2 separate regions of the Homo sapiens genome follow, and region 1 is linked to region 2. Evidence: promoter capture Hi-C in 16 types of primary human blood cells and fetal thymus (Javierre and others, 2016). All regions are on one chromosome and are shown on one strand. Each heading gives the region's core, a stretch centred on a gene start or on the middle of the fragment in contact. The rest is flanking DNA. Distances are from core to core; before and after follow the strand shown. Region 1 holds the start of MINK1 (misshapen like kinase 1). Region 2 holds the start of SLC52A1 (solute carrier family 52 member 1).

Region 1 (6,943 bases), core at 185-2,684, 200 kb after region 2:
GATGGGAAGTCCTGCTCTCCCCACACCTTGGCCTGGTGAGAGCGCTGGAAGGGCACAGGATCAAAACACCACCTGGCTGATAGTCTGGAGTGTTCACCTTGAAATCACTAAGTTGCCCCTTAAGCCAAAGCTCCCTGCCGAAGAAAAACATAAATGCTACAGAAAGCTCTTCCACCAGAGTGTGTAAGTGCCCCACAAGGGACAATGAACGGGTATTTCCAAGAAATTCCTGCAGCATTTGCTTCCTCTCAACCCCTTTCCTTATTAGCCCCTACCTTGAGAGGTCTCCATTGCTTCCAGCCTTTAGCTAACATAAACACCCACTGCCTTTCCAAACCTTCAGCCTGACCACATGTAGCATGTGTCGTGTGTGCGCGTGTGTGTGTGTGTAAACATCCTCTTCCCAGCCCGTGCTACAGTTTCCAAAGAGAAGAAATGCCTCCCCTCCTCCCCGAGGGCTCCCAGCCCCACGCTGCTGCAGAGTTGGTCATGTAATATTCAGGGACCCTGAGACCGGAAATGCCTGGTTCTGAACTGCTGCACTTGAAACAGGAGAGAAGGGATAGGGAAAACTGAACATGGGATTGAGGGTGACGGCACGAGGGGTGGGGTAGCTGAAATTCCGACCAGGGAAAGGATGCAATTCAAGGGTGGGCGAGGCAGAGAAAGAGGGATGAGAGAGAGGCTGTCGAGACAGTTGCAAAGTCAAAATTCCAGGAGCTGAGGAAGAGGAGGGGAAGGAAGAAGATAGAAGTAAGGGCAAAGGTGGAAAAGGGCCGAAAGGAGGTAAGGAACCACAATAAAGGTTCTCCAGGTGATGGGGGAGGCTAAGTTTAGGCGAACCAGTGGGTCCCGAACCCCAGAGTAAAGGTAGGGTGGCACGGAAGTGTGGGGGCGGGGCACCACAGGGTGGGGACCGAACTGGCTCCCAGCATCTGCAGCCAGTGGAGAGAGAAGGGAGCAGAGGGCGGGGGCCCAGCCGCGGCGGGAGTCCGGGAAAGGGGCACGGGTCGCCAAGGGGACCCAAGCTGGTGGAGGGGGCGCCCGGGAGCACGTGAGGCGTGCAGCCACCCCGCTCCCTCCCCTGCGGCGGGGACAGGAACCAGGGCGAGGCTGGGGGACGGCGCGCTCACCCGCAGGGCGGACAGGTCGATGTCGTCCAGGCTGCGGGCGGGGGCTGGGTCGCCCATGGCCTCCGTGGGGAACGGGGCACCGGGGCCGCTCACGCTCCGGCTCGGTTACTCCACTGCCGCCGTCGCCGCTTCTCCCCCATCGGAGAACCCCGGGGGCGGACTCCACCGCGCCTCCCCCGGAGACCGGGGAGGGGGAGGGCCGGCGCGAGGACCGACCCACCGACTGACAGGCGCTATCTCCCCGGAGCCAGCCACCCGAGCCTACCACCTCTCCTGCGCAGGCGCGGAGCGACCGCGCACTGGGAGGGTGGAAGCGCGAGCGTGACGCGAGCGCGCCGGGGCCCCCTCCCCCTAGGCGCCGACACCTGCGCGCAGGCGCAGGCGAGCAGGCGAAAGGCGCGCGCGAGGACGGAGCGACCGCGCGAGCCTGGCGTGAAAGAAGTGGGCGGCGGCCGAGGCGGCCGCGGAGCGCGCCCACCAGCTGGTGCGCGTGCGCACACGCGTTTCCTTTTCTTTCCCTATTTTTTTTGCCCTTTCTCTCCCTTATTTCCTTCTCAGATCTCCTTTGACGCCTTTCCTTCCCTTTCCCTCCTTCTTTCGTGTGCCCAGCTGCCAATCAAGCCACCCACCTTTCCATTTGCGGGGGAAGGGGGCGGTACCCAACCCCCTCTATTACTAGGGGGTTGTTATGGTAACTCCCCACGCGAGGGCTGGGTGGCCTCTAGATAGGACGGGCTGTCCACCCACCCAATTGCTATGGCAACAGTGGAGCCGCTGAGGGAGGGGCCACTCCGTGAGAACTTGGCTGGAGAAACCACGTGGGAGTTGGGGGGCAGAGGAGGGGCACCGGCTGCCTCAGGAATGCCCTTTCCACCCTCACCTAGCAGGTTGGGGAAGCATCGAGGTGCTCTCAGATCTCAGGATAAGGAATCCTACCGCAGACGTGTATCTCTGCACCTCTTTTAACAAAGTGTTCTGCACAAAGGAACTGTTTCCACAATTATTCATTGATCACTGGAGTCGCGCGTGGAGGAAGGGGTGGCGAAGGGGAAGAGAGGGAATCTGCGTTCAGTCCCTTAAAATATAGCTTGGGTCACCTTAGATCTAGTCATGTTGGCATAGCGCCTACAGCCATTAGCCTCAGTGGAGGCTGGGTAATGCTATCTAAGAACCACGAGTCATGTTCTACCACTGAAATGCTGTGTGACCTTGAGCAAGTTGCTTTGCTTCTCTGAGGTTTTCTTTCACTGTGAAATTGAGGGGGGAGGCTGTATGATCCTCAAGAGCTCTTCTAGCACCAACACTGCCTCTGAAAGACTCCACCACCAGCCTTAATATAAACATCATTTAAGAGAGTTTAATTTAGAAGTCCTTGAAAAATAGCTGAACACATTCCTTTCTGGACCGTTTTTAGCATTTGGGTGCACAGCCAGTCGGCCCCCTTCCCTAACCCCTAGCCCATTTTCCTTGCCACTGCCCTTATTCAAGCCGCTATCCCCATTCATCTCCTATTTGGCCTTCCGGCCTGACTCCTTCAAGTCAATTCTATTTTTTTTTTTTTTTTTTTTTTTTTGAGACAGAGTCTCACTCTGTCGCCCAGGCTGGAGTGCAGTGGTGCGATCTTAGCTCACTGCAAGCTCCGCTTTCCGGGTTCATGCCATTCTCCTGCCTCAGCCTCCTGAGTAGCTGGGACTACAGGCGCCCGCCACCTCGCCCGGCTAATTTTTTGTATTTTTAGTGGAGACGGGGTTTCACCATGTTAGCCAGGATGGTCTCGATCTCATGACCTCGTGATCCGCCCGCCTCGGCCTCCCAAAGTGCTGGGATTACAGGCGTCAGCCACTGTGCCCAGCCTCTATTTTTTTTTTTTTAAAGACAAAGTCTCGCTCTGTCACCCAGGCTGGAGTACAATGGTATGATCTCTGCTCACTGCAACCTCAAGCTTCTGGGCTCAAGCTATCCTCCAACCTCAGCCTCCCAAGTAGCCAGGACTACAGGCAGCGCATGCCACTACACCTGGCTGATTTTTATATGTTTTGTAGAGATGGGGCTTTGCCATGTCGCCCAATCTGGTCTCAAACCCCTGGCCTCAAGTGATCTGCCTGCCTCGGCCTCCCAAAATGCGGAGATTACAGGATCCCTTGAGGACAGGAGTTGGAGGCCAGCCTGGCCAACATGGTGGGGTTTTTTGTTTGTTTTTTTTTTTTTTTTTTTTTTTTTAGACAGTTTTAGTTTAGTTTAGTTTTTTTGTGAATTTGTGAATTTGTTTTTATTGGGGAACAGGACACAGGGTGGAAAATGTCACCTTGGTGGAGACAGAGTTTTGTTCTCGTTGCCCAGGCTGGAGTGCAGTGGCACAATCTTGGCTCACTGCAACCTCCGCCTCCCGGGTTCAAGCAATTCTCCTATCTCAGCCTCCTGAGTAGCTGGGATTACAGGTGCACGCCACCACGCGTAGCTAATTTTTTGTATTTTCAGTTGAGACGGGGTTTCATCATGTTGGCCAGGCTGGTCTCGAACTCCTGGTCTCAGGTGATCCACCTGCATTGGCCTCCCAAAGTGCAGGGATTACAGGCGTGAACCACCACAACCGGCCAAGCCTCGCAGACATAGTGAAACTCTGTCTCTATTAAAAATACAAAAAATTGGCCGGGCACGGTGGCTTGCGCCTGTAATCCCAGCACTTTTGGGGAGGCCGAGACGAGTGGATCACCTGAGGTCAGGAGTTTGAGACCAGCCTGGACAACATGGTGAAACCATGTCTCTACTAAAAATACAAAAATTAGCCGGGCATGGTGGCAGGCGCCTGTAATCCCAGCTATTCGGGATGCCGATGCAGAAGAATCGCTTGAACCCGGGAGGCAGAGGTTGCAGTGAGCCGAGAACGTGCCACTGCACTCCAGCCTGGGTGACAGAGCAAGACAACGTCTCAAAAAAAAAAAAAAAAAAAAAGCCGGGTGCAGTGGCTCACGCCTGTAATCCCAGCACTTTTGGGGAGGCCGAGACGAGTGGATCACCTGAGGTCAGGAGTTTGAGACCAGCCTGGACAACATGGTGAAACCATGTCTCTACTAAAAATACAAAAATTAGCCGGGCATGGTGGCAGGCGCCTGTAATCCCAGCTATTCGGGATGCCGATGCAGAAGAATCGCTTGAACCCGGGAGGCAGAGGTTGCAGTGAGCCGAGAACGTGCCACTGCACTCCAGCCTGGGTGACAGAGCAAGACAACGTCTCAAAAAAAAAAAAAAAAAAAAAGCCGGGTGCAGTGGCTCACGCCTGTAATCCCAGCACTTTGGGAGGCTGAGGCGGGAGGATCACGAGGTCAGGAGATCAAGACCATCCTGGCTAACACGGTGAAACCCCGTCTCTACCAAAAATACAAAAAAAAATTAGCCGGGCGTGGTGGTGGGCGCCTGTAGTCCCAGCTACTCCGGAGGCTGAGGCAGGAGAATGGTGTGAACCCCGGAGGCGGAGCTTGCAGTGAGCCGAGGTCGTGCCACTGCACTCCAGCCTGGGCGACAGAGCAAGACTCCGTCTCAAAAAAAAAAAAAAAAAAAATTGGCCGGGCGTGGTGGCTCATGCCTGCAATCCCAGCACTTGGGGAAGCCAAGGCAGGCGACTGCACTCCAGCCTGGGCAACAGCGCGAGACTCTGTCTCAAAAAAAAAAAAAAAAAAAAAAGGCCAGGCACGGTGGCTCACGCCTGTAATCCCAGCACTTTGGGAGGCCAAGGCAGGTGGATCACGAGGTCAAGAGATCGAGACCATCCTGACAAACATGGAGAAACCCCGTCTCTACTAAAAATACAAAATTGGCCGTGTGTGGTGGCGCATGCCTGTAATCCCAGCTACTTAGGAGGCCGGGGCAGGAGAATCTCTTGAATCTGGGAGGCGGAGGTTGTGGTGAGCCGAGATCATGCCATTGCACTCCAGCTTGGGCAACAAGAGCGAAACTCCATCTCAAAACAAAACAAAAACCAGATTGGCTGGGCATGGTGGCTCACACCTGTAATCCCCGCACTTTGGGAGGCTGAGGCAGGTGGATCACCTGAGATTGGGAGTTCGAGACCAGCCTGGCCAACATGGTGAAATGCCGTCTCTACTAAAAATACAAAAAATTAGCCGGGCGTGGTGGGGTGTGCCTATAATCCCAGCTACTTGGGAGGCTGAGGCAAGAGGATTGCTTGAACCCAGGAGGCAGAGGTTGCAGTGAGCTGAGATTGCACCACTGCACTCCCGCCTGGGTGACAGCGTGAGACTCTGTCTCATAAAAAAAAAAAAAAAAAAAAAAAAAAAAAAGGCAAAGTGTGGCATCAAAGACCCTTCAAGATTCTGCTGGCTTTTCTTGCCTTCTTTTTCTTTGTTAACGGTTTGCTTCTTTAGGAGTTGGGGTCTTGCTCTATCACCCAGGCTAGAGTGTAGTGGCACGATCATGGCTTACGGCAGCCTCCAACTCCTGGGCTCAAGTGTTAATCCTGCCTCAGGCTCTTGAGTTGCTGGGATTATAGGCATGAACCACCCTGCTCAGTGCCTGCCTTACTTTTCAATACTCAACTATTAGACCTCACATTTTCCAGCCATACTGAAATACTCTACTCACTTCCCAGAACTCAACTTTCTCTCCCCCAACCTTTGCATGTACTCTGTTTTCTCTTTGGAATATTCCCTAGCCTCTTGACCATGCCCATTCTTACCGTGCTTTGCTTTGTCCTACGTGTCTAAATCACCTCCTCCATGAAGCGTTCCTTGACTCACCAAGACTAAGTTTGGTTCTTCTGTTTTAGCTGCCTGGCTTTAGTCCATGGTAACATTTAATGATTTGAATTGTAAATGTCTTTTGAATCTCCTTAAAAGCAGGAATAATATTAGTCTTGTTCAGCACATGGCCTGGCACCCACTAGAAAATCAATAACGCTTAAAAAAAAAACAAAAGAAAGAAAATCACTAACACTTAAGCAATGAAGGTGGCCAGGCACCGTGGCCCATGCCTGTAATCCCAGCACTTTGGGAGGCTGAGGCGGGTGGATCACCTGAGGTCAGGGGTTCGAGACCAGCCTGACCAATATGGTGAAAACCTGTCTCTATGAAAAATACAAAAATTAGCTGGGCGTGGTGGTGTGCACCTGTAATCCCGGCTAGGTGGGAGGCTGAGGCAGGGGAATTGCTTGAACCCGGGAGGCGGAGGTTGCAGTGAGCTGTGATCATGCCACTGCACTCCAGCCCGGGCGACAGAGCGAGACTCCATCCCCAAAAAAAAAAAAAAAAAAGTAATGAAGGCATCTGTTGTCTGGGTGGGCACTGTAGCAGTTCAAAGTCAAGACCATGGGATAGTAGGAAAAAGCATAGAATTTGGAGGTAGTGCGTTAGGCAAATCACTAACCTCTCTGAGGCTCAACTCTGTCATCTGTAAAATGGAGATGATAATAATAGGGAGGTTAGGATAAAATAATTTATGTAAAGCACTTAGCATATACTAGGTCCTCAATAAATTTACTAATGCCTCAGTCATAGAGGCTCCTTTTTCCATTCTGGGTTTAGAGCCAACTCTTCTGATTCTAAGCCCTCTGCTTCCACCGCCCACCCCCCCTCACTATGGTTGGTCTCCATTTAAAAAACTCCAGGACTAGGCTGGGCACAGTGGCTCATGCCTGCAATCCCAGCACTTTGGGAGGCTAAGGCGGGTGGATCACGAGATCAGGAGTTCCAGGCCAGCCTGGCCAACATGGTGAAACCCCGTGTCTACTAAAAGTACAAAAATTAGCCAGGCACGGTGCAGGGGGCCTGTAATCCCAGCTACTCGGGAGGCTGAGG
Region 2 (7,401 bases), core at 4,796-7,295:
AAACAAAGAAACAAAAAAAAATTCGCTGGGCATGGTGGTGTGCACCTGTAGTCCCAGCTACTTGGGAGGCTGAGATGGGAGAATCACTTGAACCCAGGAGGCAGAGGTTGCAGTGAGCCAAGATTGCACCACTGCACTCGAACCTGGGCAACAGGGCAAGTCTCCATCTCAAAATAAATAAATAAATAAATAAGTAAAAATAAAAGTAAAAAATTAGCCAGCCGTGGTGGCTGGCACACACCTATGGTCCCGGCTGCTTGGGAGGTCAAAGCTGGAGGACCACTTGGAGCCCAGGAGTTCAAGGCTACAGCAAGCTATGATCTTGCCACTGGACTCCAGCCTGGGCGACAGAGACCCTGTCTCAAAAATAACAACAGGCCGGGCACGGTGGCTCACGCCTGTAATCCCAGCACTTTGGGAGGCCGAGGCGGGTGGATCACGAGGTCAGGAGATCGAGACCATCCTGGCTAACACGGTGAAACCCCATCTCTACTAAAAATACAAAAAATTAGCTGGGCGTGGTGGCAGGCACCTGTAGTCCCACCTACTCGGGAGGTTGAGGCAGAAGAATGGCGTGAACCCAGGAGGCAGAGCTTGCAGTGAGCCAAGATCGCACCACTGCACTCCAGCCTGGGTTACAGAGTGAGACTCCATCTCAAAAAAAAAAAAAAGTGCTATTCGGTGCTATAGGGTTATGATAGGTTTATGGTGAACTGAACTGCCAAGTAACAGCCTTAGGGCTGTGTGGCCACAACAGAGTACCAGGTAGCCCATCTACCAAGGAGCAGAGGGATCTTCCAGGTGAGGATTCTGCACCTTGGCGAGTTAGACCTTCGGTCCCCTTGGTTATTCCCCGTGCACCAGACCCCAAGGCCATCCCTTGCTCTTTTCTGAAAATTCAGGGAGAAGCTAAGGTTTGAGGCACGTAGTGTCGAAACCACAATGACAGATCTTATCATTTGCATTAGTCCTCTCACCCCACGCAAGAACAAATTTGGACTAGGAACGGTGGTTCATGCCTATAATCCCAACACTTTGGGAGGCTGAGGTGGTAGGATTGCTTGAGCCCAGGAGTTTGGGAGCAGCCTATGCAGCAGAGCAAGACCTAGTCTCTACAAAGAATTTAAAAATTAGCCAGGTGTGGTGGTGCACACCTGTGGTCCCAGCTACTCAGGAAGCTGAGCTGGGTGGATCACTTGAGCCTGGGAGTTTAAGGCTGCAGTGAGATGTGATGACACCACTGCACTCCAGCCTGGGTGACAGAGCAACACCCTGTCTCAAAAAAAAGAAGGAAAAGAACAAATTTGATCTAGGGACCCGCCAGTGCTCAGTGATGTTCTCCTTCATTAAGTAATGTTCTTCCACTTTCTACTTCAAGTATCCATCCCTCAGTGGGGCCCGCACACAAGGCACTTTTGTAATCCTACACATCACAACCACCCCAGGCACACATCCAACAATGACCGTTCACCATTTATAGCCGGCTCCTTGACTCCCTCCATGTGGGTCTTGCCTCTCCTGTCGCGGCCTCTCTAGCATTCTGCCTTTCTTTAGTTGGAGCTCTATTCCTAAGGACATGGTGATCTCTTTTGTCCCAAAGTCATTCCAAGAGAAGCATCTGCACTTTATAATTTTTCTTTCCCTCTTCTGCAAGGTCCCTAACATATAGGGAACTATTGTCTATACATTGTCAATTACTGACTGGGCGCGGTGGCTCATGCCTGTAATCCCAACAGTTTGGGAGGCCGAGGCGGGCGGATCACCTGAGGTCAGGAGTTCGAGACCAGCCTGGCCAACATGGTGAAACCCCATCTTTACTAAAAATATAAAAATTAGCCAGGCTTGGTGGTGGGTGCATGTAACCCCAGCTACTCGGGAGGCTGAGGCAGGGGAATCACTTGAACCCAGGAGGCGGATGTTGCGGTGAGCCGAGATCACACACTGCACTCCAGCCTGGGTGGCAGAGTGAGAAATTGTCAATTACTGATTTGCAGATAGGCAGTGGCAGGGTGTTTGGCCAAGGGGTGAGGTGATCACCTACGTTAAGGGGACAGTTCCTGCAGTTAGACCGTGACCAACACTGAAATCCTGGCTCTGCTCCCTACCTGTGGAAGGTTGGACAAGTGACTGAATTTTTTTTTTTTTTTAGAGATGGAGTCTCTCGCTGTTGCCCAGGCTGGAGTGTAGTGGCACGATCTCAGCTCACTGTGACCTCCGCCTCCTGAGTTCTAGTGATTCTCCTGCCTCAGCCTCCCAAGAAGCTGGGACTACAGGTGCGTGCCACCAAGCCCAGCTGATTTTTGTATTTTTAGTAGAGACGGGGTTTCACCGTGTTGGCCAGGCTGGTCTCAAAGTCCTGACCTCAGGTGATCCACCTGCCTCAGCCTCCCACAGTGCTAGGATTACAGGCATGAGGCCACCGCGCCCGGCTGACTGAATCTTTATGTGCCTCGGTTTCCAGTTTCCTTTTAATGGAGTATTGATAATAGTAGCCACTCCATTGGACTTTTGGGAGGATTGTTTGTTAATATTTTTTAAATATTTATGCCAGTACCTGGCATATAACAAGAAAAGTGTTGGATAGGCCAGGCGCGGTGGCTCACGCCTGTAATCGCAACAGTTTGGGAGGCCGAGGTGGGCGGATCACGAGGTCAGAAGATCGAGACCATCCTGGCTAACACGGTGAAACCCCGTCTCTACTAAAAAATACAAAAAAATTAGCCGGGTGTGGTGGTGGGCGCCTGTAGTCCCAGCTACTCAGGAGGCTGAGGCAGGAGAATGGTGTGAACCCAGGAGGCAGAGCTTGCAGTGAGCCGAGATTGCGCCACTGCACGCCAGTCTGGGCAACAGAGCAAGACTCTGTCTCGAAAAAAAAAAAAAGAAAAGTGCTGGATAAATGGTGTCTTTTCTCATCCTCTTGGAGTATTAGAAACATCATTGTTTGGTATTACTGTGGGAAACTAAATGTGACCCCATTTCTGTCTGGTTTAGCCTTTCCCTAAGCAGTGAGGGCAAGCTTGGTTGCACATCAGAGTCACCTAGGAAGCTTTCAAAATTTATTTTACTATTTTTTTTTTAAGAGACAGGGTCTCCTTCTGTTGCCCAGGCTGGAGTGCAGTGGCATAATCATGGCTTGCTGCAGCCTCAAATTCCTGGGCTCAAGTGATCCTCTCACCTCAGGCTCCTGAGTAGCTGGAATTACAGGCACACACCACTGTGTCAGGCTTGTGTTTTTTGAAACACAGATTTTAGGCCGGGCGCAGTGGCTCACACATGTAATCCCAGCACTTTGGGAGGCTGAGGCGGGCGGATCACTTGAGGTCAGGAGTTCAAGACCAGCCTGGCCAACATGGTGAAACCCCGTCTCTACTAAAAATACAAAAAATTAGCCGGGCGTGGTGGCAGGCGCCTGTAGTCCCAGCTACTCGGGAGGCTGAGGCAGGAGAATGGCGTGAACCTGGGAGGCAGAGCTTGCAGTGAGCCGAGATTGAGCCACTGCACTCCAGCCTGGGCGACACAGTGAGACTCCGTCTCAAAAAAAAAAAAAAAAAAAAAAGGAAGGAAGAAAGAAAGAAACAGATTTTAGGGTATTATTGGAAGAAAGAAAGAAACAGATTTTAGGGTATTATTGGTTTATTTATTCAACAACAATTTGAGCACGTCCTATGTGGTATAATGATCACTGAGAATAGGGTAGGTAGTGAAATAGACAAAGTGCCTCCTCCGCGCAAACGTACATCCTAGTGAGGGAGATAGACCAGCAAACTTGTTCTGTAAATGGCCAGACAGTAAACATTTTAGGCTTTGAGGGCCACACAGTCTCTGTGGAAACCATTCAGCTCTGCCCTTATAGCAGGAAAGCAGGTGTAGACAATAGGTAAATGAATGGGCTTGGCTGTGTTCTGATAGTATTTTATTTATGGACACTGAAATTTTTTTTTGTTTGGGGGGGTGGATGGAGTCTCGCTCTGTTGTCTCGACTGGACTGCAGTGGCACAAGCTCAGCTCACTGCAACCTCCACCTCCCTGGTTCAAGCGATTCTCATATCTCAGCCTCCCGAGTAGCTGGGATTACAGGCGCCCGCCACCATACCCAGCTAATTTGTGTATTTTTAGTAGAGACGGGGTTCACCATGTTGGCCAGGCTGGTCTTGAACTCCTGATCTCAGGTGATCAGCCCGCCTCGGCCTCCCAAAGTGTTGGGATTACAGGCGTGAGCCACCACGCCTGGCCTACCGAAATTTAAATTTCATATGCTTTTAGTTTTCACGGGTTAGGAAATACGATTCTTTTGTTTTCTTTGTTTTTTGTTTTGTTTTGGTTTTAGACAGGGTCTCACTGTCACCCAAGCTGGAGTACATTGGCACAATCATGGCTCATTGCAGCCTTGACCTCCTGTGCTCAAGGGATGCTCTCACCTCAGACGCCTGAGTAGCTGGGACTACAGATATTGATTTTTTTTTCCAACCATTTAAAAATGTAAAAACAGCTGGACGTGGTGGCATGTGCTTGTAGTCCCAGCTGCTCAGGAGGCTGAGGTGGGAGGATCCTTGAGCCCAGGTATTTGAGGCTGCAGTGAGCTGTGATTGTGCTACTGCACTTCCTTTTGAGGAAGACACTTTCTCAAAAATAGTAATAAAAATAAATAAATAAATATGTGAAAACCTGTCTTAGCTAGCAGGCCATACAAAAATGGGTAGTAGGTCAGGGTAATCCCTGAGATGGTCAGTGAGTAAACAAGTACAAAATATCATTAAAGGGCCAGACATGGTGGCTCACGCCTGTAATCCCAGCACTTTGGGAGGCTGAGGCGGGCGGATCACCTGAGGTCAGGAGTTCGAGACGAGCCTGGCCAATATGGTGAAACCCCATCTCTACGAAAAATACAAAAATTATCCAGGCGTGGTGGCAGGCGTCTGTAATCCCAGCTACTCGGGAGTCTGAGGCAGGAGAATGGCGTGAACCTGGAAGGTGGAGCTTGCAGTGAGCCGAGATCGCGCCACTGCACTCCAGCCTGGGCGACAGAGCGAGACTCCGTCTCAAAAAAAAAAAAAAAAAAAAAAAAAAGCAAAAATTAGCCAGGTGTGCACACCACGTCCAGCTAATTTTTTTTCAACCATTTAAAAGTGTAAAAACAGCTGGCCAGGCACGGTGGCTCACGCCTGTAATCCCCAACACTTTGGGAGGCCGGGGCAGGTGGATCACCTGAGGTCAGGAGTTCAAGACCAGCCTAGCTAACATGGCGAGACCCTGTGCACTAAAAAGACAAAAATTAGCAGGGCATGGTGGTGGGCGCCTGTAATTCCAGCTACTCGGGAGGCTGAGGCAGGAGAATGGCTTGAACCCGGGAGGCAGAGGCTCGTGCCATTGCACTCCAGCCTGGGCAACAAGAGCAAAACTCCGTCTCAAAAAAAAAAAAAAAAAAAAAAAGTGTAAAAACAGCTGAGCGTGGCGGTAGCTAGGTGTGGTGCGTCTGTAGTCCCAGCTACTTGGGAGGCTGAGGTAGGAAGATTGCTTGAGCCCAGGAGTGCCAAGCCAGCCTGAGCAACATAGTGAGACCTTGTCTCTACCAAAAAAAAAAAAAAAAAAAAAAAAAATTAGCTGGACATGGTGATGCTCGCCTGTGGTCCCAGCTACTTGTGGGGGGGTGGGGAGAGGCTGAGTGGGAGGATCCCTTGAGCTTGGGAGGTTGAGGCTGTAGTGAGCCGCGATCGCGCACCGCTGCGCTCTAGCCTGGGTGACAGAGTGAGACCCCGTCTCAAAATTAATTAATTAATTAAAACAACAAACAACAAAACCCCAGCTGTGTGGGCTCTGGGCTGGGCCGCCTCCCCGGCGGAGGGGGCTCCCTCTCAGGCAGACCGCCAGCCGCTGGGTCCGGGGACTGCCGGATCCGGAGGTGCGGGGACCCCTGCGCACCTGGCGGCTCCCGGGATGCCCCCCTGAGGCAGGCGGGAGGGCAGCACGGAGACGCCCCTCCGGGCAGAGCCCGCCCCAGCCACTCCCCTCTCCAACTCGACCTGCCTCAGCAAGTCCTGAGTGTCGCAAAAGCGCTAGGGTTGCAAGTGGCACCAGAGACGTGCCCTTGTCCCGGGGTCCATTTGAGGGTGAGCGTGTTGGTGCCGAGCTGTTTTTTTGTTTTGTTTTGTTTTGTTTTGTTTTTGAGACCGAATCTCGTTCTGTCGCCCAGGCTGGAATGCAGTGGTGTGATCTTGGCTCACTGCAACCTCCACCTTCCGGGTTCAAGTGAATCTCCTGCCTCAGCCTCCTGAGTAGCTGGGATTACTGGCACCCACCACCACGACCAGCTAATTTTTGTATTTTTAGTAGAGACGGGTTTTCACCATGTTGGCCAGGATGGTCTCAATCTCCTGACCTCAGGCGATCTGCCTTCCTCAGCTTCCCAAAGTGCTGGGATTACAGGTGTGAGCCACCGCACCCGGCCAGTGCTGAGCTGTTTTGACAACTTGGACCCCGGGTCCTCTGTGGGTAGGAAAATCAGCTCCCTCTTTGCTCCTCTGGGGCAGCTGCACCTCGGGCCAGCTTTCTGCCTGTCTGCCTGCCGGCACTGCTGGGTCGCTGTACCCAAACGCACAGCCGGTGCCCCGTGGTAAGTCCTGGCTCCCCACCTTCCCCGCCCGCCCCCGGCCACCTCTCCCTCCAGTTGCCCTGGTCTTAGCAGTCTGACCGACTTGTCTTCTGACTCCGGTTCTGTCCCACCAGCCTATTACCTGCCAGCCTGTCTGTTTCCCTCCAGCTAGAAGGTCTTCAGTTTCCAGAAGAACCAAAGCATCTTTGGACCTACCTAGGGAAGGACCTGCCTGTGACCTTTGCCCTGTCCTGGAGGGTCCAGCTTTGGGCTGAATGGCAGCACCCACGCTGGGCCGTCTGGTGCTGACCCACCTGCTGGTGGCCCTTTTTGGCATGGGCTCCTGGGCTGCTGTGAACGGGATCTGGGTGGAGCTGCCTGTGGTGGTAAAAGACCTTCCAGAGGGTGAGTGGGAGGGAGGTACAGGGAAGCGTGGGGCAGGTATGCCCAGAAAGGTGGCCTGTGGCAGCTCTTTGTCCCTTAGCCACTGTGCTCCTGACATGGCATCATTCCTTCCCTGCAGGTTGGAGCCTCCCCTCATACCTCTCTGTGGTTGTGGCGCTGGGAAACCTGGGTCTGCTGGTGGTGACCCTGTGGAGGCAGCTGGCCCCGGGCAAGGGCGAGCAGGTCCCCATCCAGGTGGTACAGGTGCTGAGTGTAGTGGGCACAGCCCTGCTGGCCCCTCTGTGGCACCACGTGGCCCCAGTGGCAGGGCAGCTCCACTCTGTGGCCTTCCTAACTCTGGCCTTGGTGTTGGCAATGGCCTGTTGTACCTCTAATGTCACTTTCCTGCCCTTCCTGAGCCACCTGCC

Evidence for each region. The method cuts DNA at HindIII sites, captures the fragments that hold promoters and counts their contacts. A CHiCAGO score of 5 or more calls a contact.
Region 1: the fragment with the promoter of MINK1 here is called in contact with the fragment with the promoter of SLC52A1 in region 2 in 8 of 17 cell types (neutrophils, monocytes, M0 macrophages and 5 more); the score reaches 8.8 in neutrophils.

The regions. Positions count from the first base shown.
Region 1 is chr17:4,827,831-4,834,773 of GRCh38, reverse strand. It overlaps MINK1 (misshapen like kinase 1), which reads right to left and starts at 1,434. Exons shown (of 32, transcript NM_153827.5): 1 at 1,134-1,434. The coding sequence starts at 1,190. RefSeq lists silencers at 884-1,133, 1,144-1,613 and an enhancer at 1,591-2,377. The HindIII fragment of the contact is 4,876 bases long and covers 1-3,077 here.
Region 2 is chr17:5,034,070-5,041,470 of GRCh38, reverse strand. It overlaps SLC52A1 (solute carrier family 52 member 1), which reads left to right and starts at 6,045. Exons shown (of 5, transcript NM_017986.4): 1 at 6,045-6,610; 2 at 6,758-6,994; 3 at 7,113-7,401. The coding sequence starts at 6,865. The region is part of intron 3 of LOC105371501 (a long non-coding RNA gene); the gene reads right to left. The HindIII fragment of the contact is 18,376 bases long and covers 3,049-7,401 here.